4 separate regions of the Homo sapiens genome follow, and all the other regions are linked to region 1. The links are contacts of gene promoters, found by promoter capture Hi-C in human tissues and cell types (Jung and others, 2019). All regions are on one chromosome and are shown on one strand. Each heading gives the region's core, a stretch centred on a gene start or on the middle of the fragment in contact. The rest is flanking DNA. Distances are from core to core; before and after follow the strand shown. Region 1 holds the start of ARHGAP20 (Rho GTPase activating protein 20). Region 2 has its middle 180 kb from the start of LINC02550. Region 3 has its middle 190 kb from the start of ARHGAP20. Region 4 has its middle 140 kb from the start of ARHGAP20.

Evidence for each region. The method cuts DNA at HindIII sites, captures the fragments that hold promoters and counts their contacts. A contact is called where the count stands out against the background at its distance.
Region 2: a fragment that was not itself captured here is called in contact with the fragment with the promoter of ARHGAP20 in region 1 in 1 of the 25 tissues and cell types used here (IMR-90 fibroblasts).
Region 3: a fragment that was not itself captured here is called in contact with the fragment with the promoter of ARHGAP20 in region 1 in 2 of the 25 tissues and cell types used here (bladder and hippocampus).
Region 4: a contact is called between a fragment that was not itself captured here and the fragment with the promoter of ARHGAP20 in region 1, in 2 of the 25 tissues and cell types used here (IMR-90 fibroblasts and aorta).

What each region holds. Positions count from the first base shown.
Region 1 is chr11:110,710,813-110,714,253 of GRCh38, forward strand. It overlaps ARHGAP20 (Rho GTPase activating protein 20), which reads right to left and starts at 1,625. Exons shown (of 15, transcript NM_001384657.1): 1 at 1,315-1,625. The coding sequence starts at 1,419. RefSeq lists enhancers at 1-489, 1,472-1,973 and silencers at 1,497-1,556, 1,577-1,736. The HindIII fragment of the contact is 8,017 bases long and covers 1-3,441 here.
Region 2 is chr11:110,915,801-110,919,241 of GRCh38, forward strand. No RefSeq gene overlaps it. Among named protein-coding and RNA genes, the nearest start is that of LINC02550, 180 kb to the right of the region's middle. The HindIII fragment of the contact is 6,942 bases long and covers 1-3,441 here.
Region 3 is chr11:110,899,828-110,903,268 of GRCh38, forward strand. No RefSeq gene overlaps it. Among named protein-coding and RNA genes, the nearest start is that of ARHGAP20, 190 kb to the left of the region's middle. The HindIII fragment of the contact is 5,275 bases long and covers 1-3,441 here.
Region 4 is chr11:110,850,136-110,853,576 of GRCh38, forward strand. No RefSeq gene overlaps it. Among named protein-coding and RNA genes, the nearest start is that of ARHGAP20, 140 kb to the left of the region's middle. The HindIII fragment of the contact is 3,044 bases long and covers 433-3,441 here.

The sequences.
Region 1 (3,441 bases), core at 375-2,874:
CCAACCTAAGATCCTGGTGGGAAGATTTATGAAAGGCAGTAAAATCAAGACAAGCAGGGAACCTGCGTAACCCCTTTAAGTCTCTAATGAAACAAATGCAATCCCTTAAGATATTTCTTAAGGAAAAGCTAGAAGATGCCTCTAATCGCAACTTGTTTCCAGAAAAGCTGGAAGGGCACCACTAAGACAAGGCAAAAAAAAAAAAAAAGGCAAAATATCGGAAAGTCTTATGCTGGAAGCGGGGGTGGGGAGGCGGGGGACAGGCAGACAGGGCTAGAAACACCCAAATCAATTCCTCAGGGAGCGAAACGGCAGAGGCCGGCAGCCCGCGGCCCACGTGCACTTGCTCAGGGAACCGTTCCAGCGAAACCTGACCCGGATCGGAATCCTCCCGCAGCACAGCGGCCGTGTTTATCGGAATGGAACGCTACAAGTTGTCACCTGCATCCCTCTCCCAGCTTTGACAGGGAACACGCGCTGCCCCCACGCCCACACCGACACCCGGATCCCTATCCAGCCCGGCCAGAGTCCCAGGGGCCAGGGACCAGTGCAGGGAGAAGGTCCCCCACCTCAGCCCTCAGGACCCCCAACCACAGCCCACCCGCCCCCACCCTGCTCGGTTCTAGGCCCAGCCGAACCTACATGTCCCCGTAGTGTCGAGCGTTATCATCCACAGTCGCCCCTCAAACTGTGACCCCCACCTGGGAGACCCGGAATCATCCAGGACCCTGGTGTGGGGGGCAGTACTCCCCATATCTGCCCCCCGAAAACTGCTATGGAGCAGCCGCGCCTCGGCGGGCAGGTGAGGGGGCCGAGCCCACCAGCGCCGCAGCCCCGCTGCCTACCTTCTTCAGCGCCGGCTGCCGCTCCCGGGCAGACATCGCCGGCCCTGACTTTGGGGCTGACACCGCCAAAGGGCAGTCAGTGCTCGCCCAGGCCACTTCGGGAGGCCCAGGGGCACGGCGAGGGGTCGGGGAAAGGCGATCGCCCACTACAGCCCGCGCGCCTAGACTGAGGGAGGAGCCGGGCTGCAGAACCGGCGGCGGATGGAGACGGGAGGGAGGCTGCGAGGTCGCTCGAGGAGAGACTAAGGCTCTAGAAACGGAGAAGCGGGCGCTCTGCGGGAGGCGGCGGCGCTGCCGCTGGCCGTCAAGGGCGGGAAGTGTTCTGGGACTCTCATTAGGGGCCGCGAGCCTCGAGCGTCAAATTCCCGCGGCGTCCGCCTAGCGCGCTGCTGTGGCGGGCGCGGAGGGCGCGCGCCGGCAGTGGGGGCTGCGGCGGCGGAGGGCACGGGCCCCCGCTCAGCGTCCTCACCTTCTTGGTGCAGCTGCCTCCCGCGAGCCGAGACACTCCTGTCAGGGAAGAGGAGCGCCCCGGCTGTCCCCCTAGAGTCTCCTGCTGGGGGGACATCGCTTCCATGAAGAAAATCTTCAAACAAATCCCAGCCCAGGAGGAGGCTACACGATCATGTCCGCGGGCTGCCGGCCGGAGGGGCGAGGACGCGCGGGCGGAGGCGCGGCTGCCGTGCTCAGGCAGGGAGCCGAGCTCCGGGTGCTCGCCGCGCGCCTCCCGTCGGGGCCATGTACCTCCGCCTGCGCTCGACACCGCGGGCTGGAGGCGAGTGCAGCGGCGACAGCCCGTCAGCGCCGCGGCCCGCCCCGCCTCGGGCCCGCCCCCTCCGCTCCGGGCGCCCTGCGCCGGGGCCCGCCCCCGCAGCCCTCCTCAGCCCTCCTCCAGCCTGGGCCCTCCTAGCCTCGTCCCAGCCTGCGGCGCGCCTGGCGGGCGTCTCTCTATATATGTTAGCACACCGGCCACCGGCTGACCTTTTCGGTCTGTGACTCCGCGTGGGTGCAGCCCGCAGGAGCTCATCGGCCTGTGTCACGCACGGGGGCCTCTAGTGCACGGACACGCGCCTCTCCCGCCACCTGCCCACTCCCACCAGACCCCATCCCTTCCCGCGCCGTGCCCGCGGCGGAAGGCGCCCCTGCAGCGCGTGCATCCGCGGAGCGGTGGCGACCTCAGCCTGAGCAGAGGAGTTGCAGTGATTCCTGCCTCGCTTTCAGCGGACTGCGGAGGGAATCCCCCACCCCACCCCACTGGGGATAGGGTGGCACGTCGCAGAGTGTCGCAGCTGTACAAATTTGGAAGCCCACAGCATCGCCTGACCTCTTGTGCAATCCCGAACGCTAGCCTGTTCGGGTAACCCTGAGTGGGCTTCTGCAGCCGGTCATGTCAGCGGCCCCTGCACATTTGCACCCGCGGTTTCCGCTGTCTGCAGGCTGCAGAGACGGGGGCATTCCAAACGTGAAAGAGCAATGAAGGAAAATGCAGACAGAGCGAGGACGCCGAAATTTGGCTAAGCTATTGAGAAGGCTACAATATGTGGAAGTGTTTATCAGATATCTGCGCCGAGAGCATAACTTCCTGTCAGCCCAAATAGAGGCAAAAATATTTTAAAGGCCAAAGAATAATCAGAGGGAGAGGATTTGGAGCTGACCCGCGTTGAGCTGAGTGTTGCTGCACTTTGCGGGGCTGGTTGACTGGTACGGATGATTCGGTAGATGGCATTCTTCCCTTGGAGTCAGGACTAGAGAAGCAGTGGCGGATTAGTGAGGAAGGACACCACGCTATGATATTAGGTTGTGGAAGGGGTTTGGTTTGCTTTTGTGGTAAGAAGAAAAAAATCGAGGTTCCTGCCAGGTTAGGCTGTTATTAGGACAGGTTGTAGAAGAATAGGGCTCTGGCCGGCTCTGTTCCAAGGAAGGGATGCTGTCCAACACACACTCGCGCGCGCACACATCACCACCATGCCCAGGAATGGTTTATTGTGGAAATAATAGGGGGAAAATGTTCCAGCCCGTTTTAAGCCTTGTCCACCTCACACTGTTTAAAGTAGGCTTACATAGGCTTTATAAATCACACACACGTATAAATCACACACACGTATAAATCACATGTATGATTTGTAAATCATCTATTATTGTGTTTATGTATGTGTGCATATACACACACAGTTTTTCATGGCTACTCTCTTTTTGCAGCTGAGACCCATGTGCAGCGACAGGACTTTGCCCCCACCATAGAGTTTGTCATGAATTCTACACGCAGAGGGCTTTGCAGTTCCTTTCATTCCTTGCTGAAATCATCCACTTACAACTCGTTAGCCTCTTTTGGTTCCTATCATAAATGCACGCTCCCAATTTTCCTTACTCTGTTTTATTTCGATAACACTTATCTCCTTCTAATATATCATGTAATTTACTTAGTATGTTTAGTGTTTATTATCTATATCTCAGAGAAATGCAAGCTTCCAGAGGGCAGGAATCTTTTGTGGGCTTTTGTTGTTGTTGTTGTTATTGTTGTTCTTTGTCGTATACCAAGTGCTTGAAGCAGTGTCTGGTGCAATAAATGTTCGTTTGCTAAGGGAATTAATGAGGCATA
Region 2 (3,441 bases), core at 510-3,009, 210 kb after region 1:
TCAAGAGATCGAGACCATCCTGGCCAACATGGTGAAACCCCGTCTCTACTAAAAATACAAAAATTAGCTAGGCATGGTGGCACATGCCTGTAGTCCCAGCTACTTGGGAGGCTGAGGTAGGAGAATTGCTTGAACCTGGGAGGCGGAGGTTGTAGTGAGCCAAGATCGTGCCACTGCACTCCAGCCTGGGTGACAGAGCGAGACTCTATCTCAAAAAAAAAAAAAAGTTGAACTGATAGAAATAAAAGGAAGAAGGGTAGTTACCAGGGGATGGGGTTGGGGGAAATGGGCAGATGTTGTTCAAAGGGTACAAACTTCCAGTTATAAAATGAGTAAGTTCAGCTGGGTGTGGTGGCTCATGCCCTGTAATCCCAGCACTTTGGGAGGTCAAGGTGGGTGGATCTCTTGAGGCCAGGAGTTCAAGACCATCTTGCCCAACATGGTAAAATCCCGTCTCTACTAAAAAATAAATACAAAAAATTAGCTGGATGTAGTGGCACACACCTGAAGTCCCAGCTACTTGGGAGGCTGAGGCATGAGGATCAGTTGAACCTGGGAGGTGGAGGTTGCAATGAGCCAAGATCGTGCTACTGCACTCCAGCCTGGGTGACAGCACTAGACTCTGTCTCAAAACAAAGTAAAATAAAATAAAATAAGTAAGTTCTAGACACCTAATGTTCAGCAAGGTGCCTATAGCCAATAATAATCTATTGTATACTAAGAGAGTAGATCTTAAGTATTTGCACCACACACACAAAAGGTAACTATGTAAGGTTATGTGTATGCTAATTAGCTTGAGTGTGGAAATCATTTCACAGTGTATACATATATCAAAACATTATGTTGTTTACCTTGAATATATACAATTTTTGTTTTTCAATTATACCTCAATACAGTTGAAAAAAAGATTGATTCTATTTGCCTTTATAGTGAGAATTTCTTACAATCTTGGCATTTTTTTTTCTCTTAAGGCCTATACTGTCACAATCAAGACTTGTCTCTGCAAATGTGAAGATCAATCTAGATGTAAGACTAGCATGTATCTGGGGCAAATTGATAACAATTTTTCCATGGCCAAGGAATATACAAATACTTGAGTATAAAACCACAAGTTACCCACTGGTACAGGGCTTATGCTCAGAGAATCAATGATAATAATTCCTACACACCATCTAACTCCTTACTTTCTGCATACATCCTTCTTTGTTTCTTCATTTCAGAATGTCCAGGTCTCAACTTCAAGCAAAAGAAGCCAAAAGTAAACAGTCAACAATGGGTCCAAATCAGTGGCAAATACTCTAGAAATCAAGACAGAAACCCTCTCTCCTCCACCTCTTCCCAGAGTGCCAGAACGGGGCCAGACTTGCAAGTCCTAGGAGGAGGAGCCCTTCCTTTCAGGATATTTGCCAAGCATTCTTGTCTCTCTGAATTGTAACTGGTATCGTTTTGGGCACAGGAAGGACATAGAAGGGTTAAGTAATGTGCCAGATGTAACAGAATAGGGAAAAAATAAGTTATCTTTCTGGAATTTGATCTGCAGTAAAAGCCAGTCTGGTGGAGGCTGTGCCTGTCCTTTTTTCTTTCAGTAGTAGGGTTTTTAACCCAATTATCCAGACTTTTTTTTCAGCTCTTTGTTTTATTTTACTTGTACAATTAGTCTTCAAGTTGATTTGAAAACAACAACAAAAAACAAAATGTAACTTTGAAAGATGTGGAAAGTTAATATTCTCCTGCGAGGCTTTAAAGGACCACCAAAGTTAGCACATACTTAGCATTTGAATATAGGCCCTGCACTCACTGCCTCCAGTAATAATTTGCTTCAGATAACTTTGCTATTGGAGTGTGTTTTGGGATAGGTGCTCCGACACCTCTTAAGGCAAATTCCAAACTCTTCTGGAAAGTATTTTTGTAAAAGAGAAACAGTCATAAGGAAGGATTACCAAGGGGAATTTTGGAAACCAGCCACACAATTAGACAACTTTTCTTCTCCAAGGACCTGTAACTTCTGCTCAGTTTTAGTATTTATATGGACATAGCCCTTGCACTCTGACATTTTTAGAAGAAATTACACTGTGCCAGAGATCTGGGATCAGTGACAACCACAATGGTCTCCTTGGAAAGCAAAAATGCTCCCAGGAAAAGTCAAGTCACTTACCCGTTAATCAAACTGCCAGTCACTTCTCACAAGTAAGACTGCTAAATGGATAGGAAAATACCACCTTTGTTCTAAATTTAGGAGATGAAGGAGGACAAGGGAGAGGAGAAGGAAAGATGATAAAGAGGGAGGAGGTGGAGAGGAGAGGAGAGAAGAGAAGGATTATGACAAAGAAAACTCCAGCTAGGTAAAGGGAGACAGAGCTGAAAGGAAAGAAGTATCAATGTAGAATGGACAGTCAAAGGAATCGGACAGTAGAGTATCTGGTAGGTAACAGTAGGGAGAGACAATGGCTATTTTAAGTCACATCTCAAGCTGAGTTGAGTTCAAATTCTGATTCCACTTCTTTCCAGCTGAGTGATCCTGGGCTTGTTCTTTAAGCTTTCTGAACTTCAGTTTCCTCATGTGTAAAATGAGTTTTACTATCTTCACCTTGCCATGCTGTTAGCAGGATCAAAATTATGTGTATAAATCCTTGCTCATTACAGTTCCTATACCATGGTATCTTGGCTGAGAACAAACCCTTTGTCTTTCTTAAGACTGATTAGCCTGGAATGTTCTAAGCTAACCTGCTGTGTTCTTGGGTAATTTAGTTGTCTTGATGGAAGCCAGAGGATAAGACCACACCCCTGAGAGTGGAGGTGGAGCTTCTCTGAGGGAAATGGAAATCACAGCTGACATCTACCCTTGGTGAAGGCTAGGTCAATCCTGGGACAGGAAATCAAGACTGTGGAGGTGGGCAAGGATTGCAGGGAGTACGTCTTCCTCTGTGGAGGTGGAGGTTGGTCTTAAGCCTTTCTTTAGGAGACACACTGTTGGGTATTTTCCCTGGAGAGAAGAAAGACGATTCCTTCAAGATGGTGGCCAGCTGAGAGAAAGTCAGGAAGAGCTTGCTCAGGACCTGCTGGGCCCAGCAGCTCTGAACATCACACAACAGTAAGTCTGTTTTGTGCTTTCCTTCTGCCATCCCTGACTTTCAGTGAAGGTTTTCAAAGAATTGCAGCCTACTCTCCACCATCCTTGTGGGTAAATGAGCCTAAGGGAAGGATCAAGGGGAACAGGTGAAGGTAACTGAGGCCAGAGAGAAGCTGGTCTCCAGAGGCAGGAGGGGCGTGCATAGATGTCCGTGGGAAGCAGAGGGCAGCATTCCAGGGCCTGAGCAGTTGATGACAACTGGGTGGACTGAAGGGGACATGTTCACCTGCTCCAGGGAGCCCAAAAGATAGGGAGGACATTCTGATAAACACTGGGCTTTATGTAATCAAGTGGGTGGAAGCAAGTATAAG
Region 3 (3,441 bases), core at 367-2,866, 190 kb after region 1:
CCCTGTAATGGCAGCCTCCTTGGCTAACATTATTACCATTTATTTCTTTTCAATTTCACCCCATAGCTCAGCAAGAATTGGAAGGAAAGGAGGCTTGAGGTTGCCTCTATTTTAAAACAAACATCTTGGTCCCAGAAAGGTGCAAACCAAATAGAAGGAATTTTTTCAAAAGAGAAAAAGGCAATTCTATTTTCTCAGGGACTTTAAGAAAAATAATAATCTGTGAGTTAGTGTTGTTCATTTGCAATGGAGCAGGAAATAACCAAACAAGGAGTAGAATGAGGATGTTGGTTGGATACTTCTGGGTAAAGTCTTCTGTGTGATTTAATTAACCTGATTGAAGAAAATTAGCAGAATTTTTGTCATTCACCTATTCAAATATAAATATGAAAGTGAAATACTATGTCAACTGTGTTTTGGGCATTATCTCCTTTTTTTTCTTTGATGACCTATGCTAAGACTTTCTACATTGAGGACAACAAAACGGAAGTTTCCTCTAGGGTCATTGGTGAATTTGTCACGTGAATAAGAAAGCCCTTTTTGCTCTCTCCGTACAATAAATAATGCATATTACAAGCTTTACAGGAAACAAATGAGTGCCTTCTAAATAATTGATTTCTATCTTTTTCTTTCTTTCTATGACCTGGAACATTATGACTTTATGTGCACATTTGATGGGTTTCCTCTCAAATATAAAGAAAAATACAATTTTCAAGTAGCTCTTTTAGACATTTGAAGTATGCACAAAAAGGCAAAAATCAGAAGGTAAGAGACTTGAGACAGCCAGTGGGAGGACGGCCTGATTTAAGCAAGCTTCCAAGGTGCTTCTTTTTAAGTCTGTTGTCAATAATTCTGCTTCATATCTCCTTCTTTCCTCTGTCTACTTTGAGAGAAAGGAGTTTGCCTGATCAGTGGGGATTTTTTGTTTGTTTTTTCCTCAACTAATATTTAATTATTAATCATAATGTTTTGGTAGGAGTAGGGGATAATTCATGGGAATTAAAGTTTCTTTTTCTCTCAAGTATTGGCCTATAATTGTAAGGCACTTCATATTTGAAAAGCCTTTCCCCAGAGCCCCATGAAGCATATGTCTGCCTTCCTACCCATATCAGTCCAAATGAGCTAAGTTGTGCTGTGGAAACAAACAACTCTAATATCTCAGGGTCTTAAAGCAGCAAAGTTGTTTGATTGCTTGTGGTCATAGTTCACGAAGGTGACCTACTTATTGTACACACTCAGGACCAGGCTAATAGTGGTGCCATCTTGACAGGTGCTTCCATGATAACAGAGGTAAGAAGAGGCCTGAGGGCATACCCATCATGTCCCCTCCTTTTTCACTGGTCAAAGCAAGTCATAGGGACAACTGAGATATGATTGGGGTCAGAGATTGTAACATCCCCTGAGAAGAGCAGGAAATATTTGTGAACAACAACACTATCCTCCAGGACCCTTTACAGGTAAGGGACTTAAAGCTCAGAGAGACTAAGACAGTGGCCCATGGTCATGCAGATGAATAGAAGGGGAGCTGTGTTTTCTCACCTCAGGGTTGGGTTTGACTGATTCTAGGTACCTGACCTGTATGTGCTGACTCCTCTCACCCTGCTGGAAGAAGCAGGGGACAGCATTACTTGGTTCTGGATATCATTTGCATCTTGTGGCTCAGCAAACCCTTTTATTTTCATGTTAAAATTGATATTTTCTTAGATTCTCTAAGACACACAGGGGTCATGTGGTTATTCGGCTTAATGGAGACTATAAATGTGACTCAAGAGTTACATAACCGAGTAGGCAGCTGTCTAGTCTAATTTCAGAGAGCTGAAAAGACTCCATGCACACGCCCCCACCCCTGTTCCTCCATGCCTGAAGCTCCCCCTAATAGGTACTATTTTTAATAGCTCTCATTAATGGAGGTGCTTATCTGTCAGGAATTGTGCTAAGTGCCTTCCTTTTACAATCTCACCTAATCATAGAAGTTGAGGAGCATTAGTGCCCCATTTAACAGATGAGAAGTTCATGCTTCTTTAACTTCTCAAAGTCCAACAGCCAGGAAGCTATTAAACACTGTGCTTTCTGACTGCCAAGCCTATGCTTTCGACCTCCATGTTTTATTGCTTCCAAAACAGGGGACAAGACTCCACATTTCACAACCACATATAAAATTTCCATGCAGATCGCCTTAGGAGAGAGATGAGGCCTGAGCTAAGTACAAATACGGTCCTTTAAGGACAGCCCAGTTTTAGAAGGGGAAGATTTAGGCAATAGTGGAGGAAGACTCGGAAAGGGATTCTATGGACTTGGAATAGGAGAAAAGTTCCCTGCGTTCATTTCTTAACAAACCAACAAAGTAACACAACCTGGATGGCTTGCAAAGCAGAAATTTATTGTCTCCTGCTTCTGGAGGCTAGAAGTCCAAGATCAAAATGTAGGCAGGATTGGTTCCATCTAAGGGCTGTGAGAGAGAATCTGTTCTAAGCCTGTCCCCTAGCTTCTGGTAGCTGCAGGCATTCCTTGGCCTGGAGATGATGTTCTCACCTTGTCTCTTTATACTGTCTTTCCTCTACACATGTCTGTGTCCCAATTTCCCCTTTTTATACAGATCCCGGTGATAATGGATTAGAGACTCATTCTACTCCAGTATGACCTCATCTTCACTAATCACATCTACAATCACATCTAATCACATCTTTATTTCCAAATAAGGTCACATTCTGAGGTACTAGGAGTTAGTACTTCAATATATAAAACTTAGAGAGACACAACCCAGCCTAGAACAGTCCCCGATAAGGAACTCTCACACCTCTCTATCACAGGACCAAGTTACTGCCAAAGCTTCCCCAGAGGCTGCCTGAAGAGGCCATGACCCAGCCCAGAAGAAATGAGGAGTTGCCTATACCCTGGGGCGGTGGGGTAGGATTGGGGGCGAGGAGACAGGTTCTGACAGTGGGAGGCCTGAAATTGGAGATCTCTGACTCTGTGGCCTTGGAAGCAACAGGAGTCATTGAAGAATCACATGGTCCCCAAAGCCAGGCCAGTATGTGCTTCTGGAGACTAAAACAACCACATGAGCTTCCTAAAAAGTCCCTCCATCCTACCCAAAATAAGTAGTCTGCAATATAGGGGGAAGGGCACTTCTAATTAACAACACTTTCTTCTATTTTTAAGAGCCATTTTATATCTTTTTGAAAATCCCCACCCCATCCTCCCCTTAGGGATGGTATCACATCTCCAAAATCATCATTTTTACATTTTATTTTGGATGGTTCACACTGAATGGAAAATTGAAGATAAAATATTTAGGCAGCACATTAGTATTCATTGTGGAGCTTTTTCTTGTTTCTCATTAGTGAATATATTTTCTGCTGAAAATTTTCTATTATGCTTCCCCCAAGGTAGCATTATTTTGAAGCTAGAATGAGTAGAGATAAAGAACTATTGATAAAA
Region 4 (3,441 bases), core at 705-3,204, 140 kb after region 1:
AAAATGGAGCAACTAGAAGCAGGTAGAACTGATTAGTTCCAGAGCCAGACATATCATGTGGCACATCATTCTACCTAGCAAATTCTGAAGAATTAATTATAACTGTTACAAACAGTCTGAACCTTTCAGGTTTGTGTTTGGTATTAAACCCCTGTTACTAAGGGGAAAATTTCTTTCACTTTTCACCTAATTTCACTGTCAATACACTTTTCTGCTGTCACTCATTATAGACATTCTGGAATTGCATGCTTGGATGCAACAGGGGTGTGGGTAAGGGGAGAAAATAGGGGATGGTGGACACCCCAGGTTTCAGTCGGTTTGAAAATCCGTTCAATCATTAACTGACAACTCTTCTTGGGTGTGAGAAATTATTTTTTTTTAAATAAATAAGTATACTTGGGACTGGTATAACCTGTATGCCCTTTTACCTTAGATTGGAGTTCTCTACCTCTCCTCTGTTTGCTTTGTAGGCTTTATCTACTGATTCCCAATATCAGGGAAGAAACTAATGATTTGAATGTTGACCCCTCTTTCCAAGAAGTTGGAGTGCCTTGATCCTAATAGGAGATGATTTATTAGCTCCACGCTTAAAACAGGCCACTGAAGAAAACCTCCCCTCCTGCCCCAGAATGAACCCTTCTAATCTGTGGTAAGGGTCACATATGGAGATTCAATCATCTCATCTCCCCTGATTTCCCTCAGCAGCTTTCCATGAGATGTGGGGTTTTTGTAGAGATTGTGAGATAGGGCAGTGATGGGGCTAAATGGGGAGGGGTTGTGGAAAGTAAATCAAAGCATAATTCTTACATGCCCGGGCTAGAGATAATTGCATTGTGTGTTCTCTGACGGTTGGTGGGAGTCATGAGATCAGCAAAATTCCTGAAAATTCTTGTGGCCAGATTGATATCTGTATTCTTTACGTTATTCCATCATCCCAAGTCACAGCTCTGTGTGTGTGTGTGTCTCTCTGTGTGTGTGTGAGACAGAGAGAGAGAGAGAATAAGAGAATTCAAGATCCCACAAGAGTAAATGAATGGATTTGAAGAGAATTTAAATGAATCAAGGTATCTTAACTTACCTTTGCAGTAGATAGTTTTTTTACACCTATGTTAGAGATAATCCAAGAACAAAGGACAAGGCTCCTCTAATGAAATATATCCCTTATCTCTCCAAATCATGCTCCTCAGAAGAGTCACTGGTATTTGAGGAGCTTGCATTAGTAAAAAGAAAAGGTGTCTCTCATGGGTGGCAGGATGGATCTGAGAAGCTCCGGGATCATGGATGTCTGAAAGAGTGTCAGAAAGGGGCAGCTGATCACAGTGCACCTTAGGAAGCTTCCTTTGGTACAGATTCAAGGACACACTGAAGACAGAGAACCTATTTCTGATGCTAATATAGTGACCTAGGGAAAAAAATACAAAGGATTTAATTAAACTGGAGCATGGGAGGAAGAAAATAAACATAAGAAACACTGAGAAATAGAACAGGCAGAAATTGACAGTGTGGGATGAGTATAGCAGATCCAGCACTTATATTCTTCTCTTCTTATTCCCAATAAATTCTCAATTTTGTTTAGAAATGCACTCCCAGTCGCTTGAACTGGGGAGGCAGAGCTTGCAGTGAGCCAAGATCATGCCACTGCCCTTCAGCCTGGGCAACAGAGTGAGATCCCATCTCAAAAAAAAAATGCATTCCTTCTCCACATAATTCTGGGTTTCAGGAGAAGGAAGTAGACTCCCTTCTAAGTACCTGTCGATAGATTCTAGTTATCTTATAAGTCAATTGTGCCTTCTCCGGGGATTGGTTTAGAGGTGGGCCTGTGTCCGCTTCTAGCCAGAGTGATGTGAGGTAACCTGTTCTTATCCTCATAAGGTTATTGTGAGGACCTGGTCAGATAACGCATATGAAGTGTTTGTCATTAACAGGCACTGAGTACATTTTGGCTGTCTAGTGTCTCAATTCAGTATCTGTCATGTGGGTCCAGGAAAGTGGTTTTTCCCGAACCATAGCTACTAGCCTGTCGGTGTAGACCTTAGCTTTCGCACATTGCTATACAGAATAAGGGATGGATAAAGACTGAACTGAAATGAACCAAACGTGAGAGAGCACAGAAGGATGAAGGTGGTGGTTGCATGTGGGGAGGGAATTGGCTGGCTGTGTTAGGAGGAGGGCTAAGTATTTTGGTAAAGCCTTAGTTTAACAGGGTGGTATAGTATCAGATGGGATAAACTGCAGGCTGTTTTAAAAGGGAGAAATTGAGTTAACCACCTATTTCTTCTTGTTACTACAAGCACCATATTTGAGTGGTTTTAATAGTAGTTTTATGTGCCAGATTTGTTGGCATTGGGAAGCATAAAGGAAGGGGCCATAAGAATACTAAGCCTCGGGCAGGTTATGGTGGCTCATGCCTGTAATCCCAGCACTTTGGTAGGCCAAGGCAGGTGGATCACGAGGTCAGGAGTTCCAGACCAGCCTGGCCAGAATGGTGAAACCCCGTCTCTACTAAAAATACAAAAATTAGCTGGGTGTGATGGTGGGAGCCTGTAATCCCAGCTACTCAGGGGGCTGAGGCAGGAGAATCATTTGAACTCAGGAGGCGGAGGTTGTAGCAAGCTGAGATCGCATCATTGCACTCCAGCCTGGGCGACAGAGCGAGACTCCGTCTCAAAAAAAAAAAAAAAAAAAAAAGAAAGAAAGAAAGAATAGTAAGCCTCACATTTTTTGGTTGTTACAAATCAGGGATTAAGAGACTTGGGATTTGAGTTCTGTCTAATAGCCTCTAAATCTGTCAACTAAGTGAGAAGCAAAATCACGTAACTGCTTAACATCATGTAAGAAAAGCAACTTGGTATCCTTGTTCAATTAGATGGGTGGCTGTGATGTTGCATAGGACCAACTTCAGTCTTCCTTGTTACTGCAGGAGCCCAGTTGTCCATGTTTGTAATCATGTGACATGCAAAGAGCTGGGTACTAGAAGAAAGGCTAGCTATGTGGCAATAAGCAGGGATCTGAGGGAGGCCCTGATTTCCTGTTTTTGTTTAAATCACTCATGTCCAGTCTTCTCATAGGCCATCTCAATGCCAAAAGAAGCCCCAGTAGATACTAAACATCCAATGAAACTGCAATAAATAGGAATTGACCTCATTTGCTTATTGCTTCAGTGTAGAATTTCTGGACGTAGAAGAGCAGGCTGAATACTAAAACAAATTAAATGACAATTTTGAATGCCGTAATCATGTATTTCCTGGTTACAAGGGCTTGGGTGTTTTTTTCTGCCAATTGAATAAATCTCATTCTAAAAACACAGATGTGTGTTGGCAGGTCCTGTGCAATCCCAAAACATACAGTTAGAGACTCAAATATAGTTATTTAAATTACCTGATGAAAGCATGAGTCCTTGCCCAGCTCAGCTGTTGTAAAATGCTAACAACATCCGAGTGC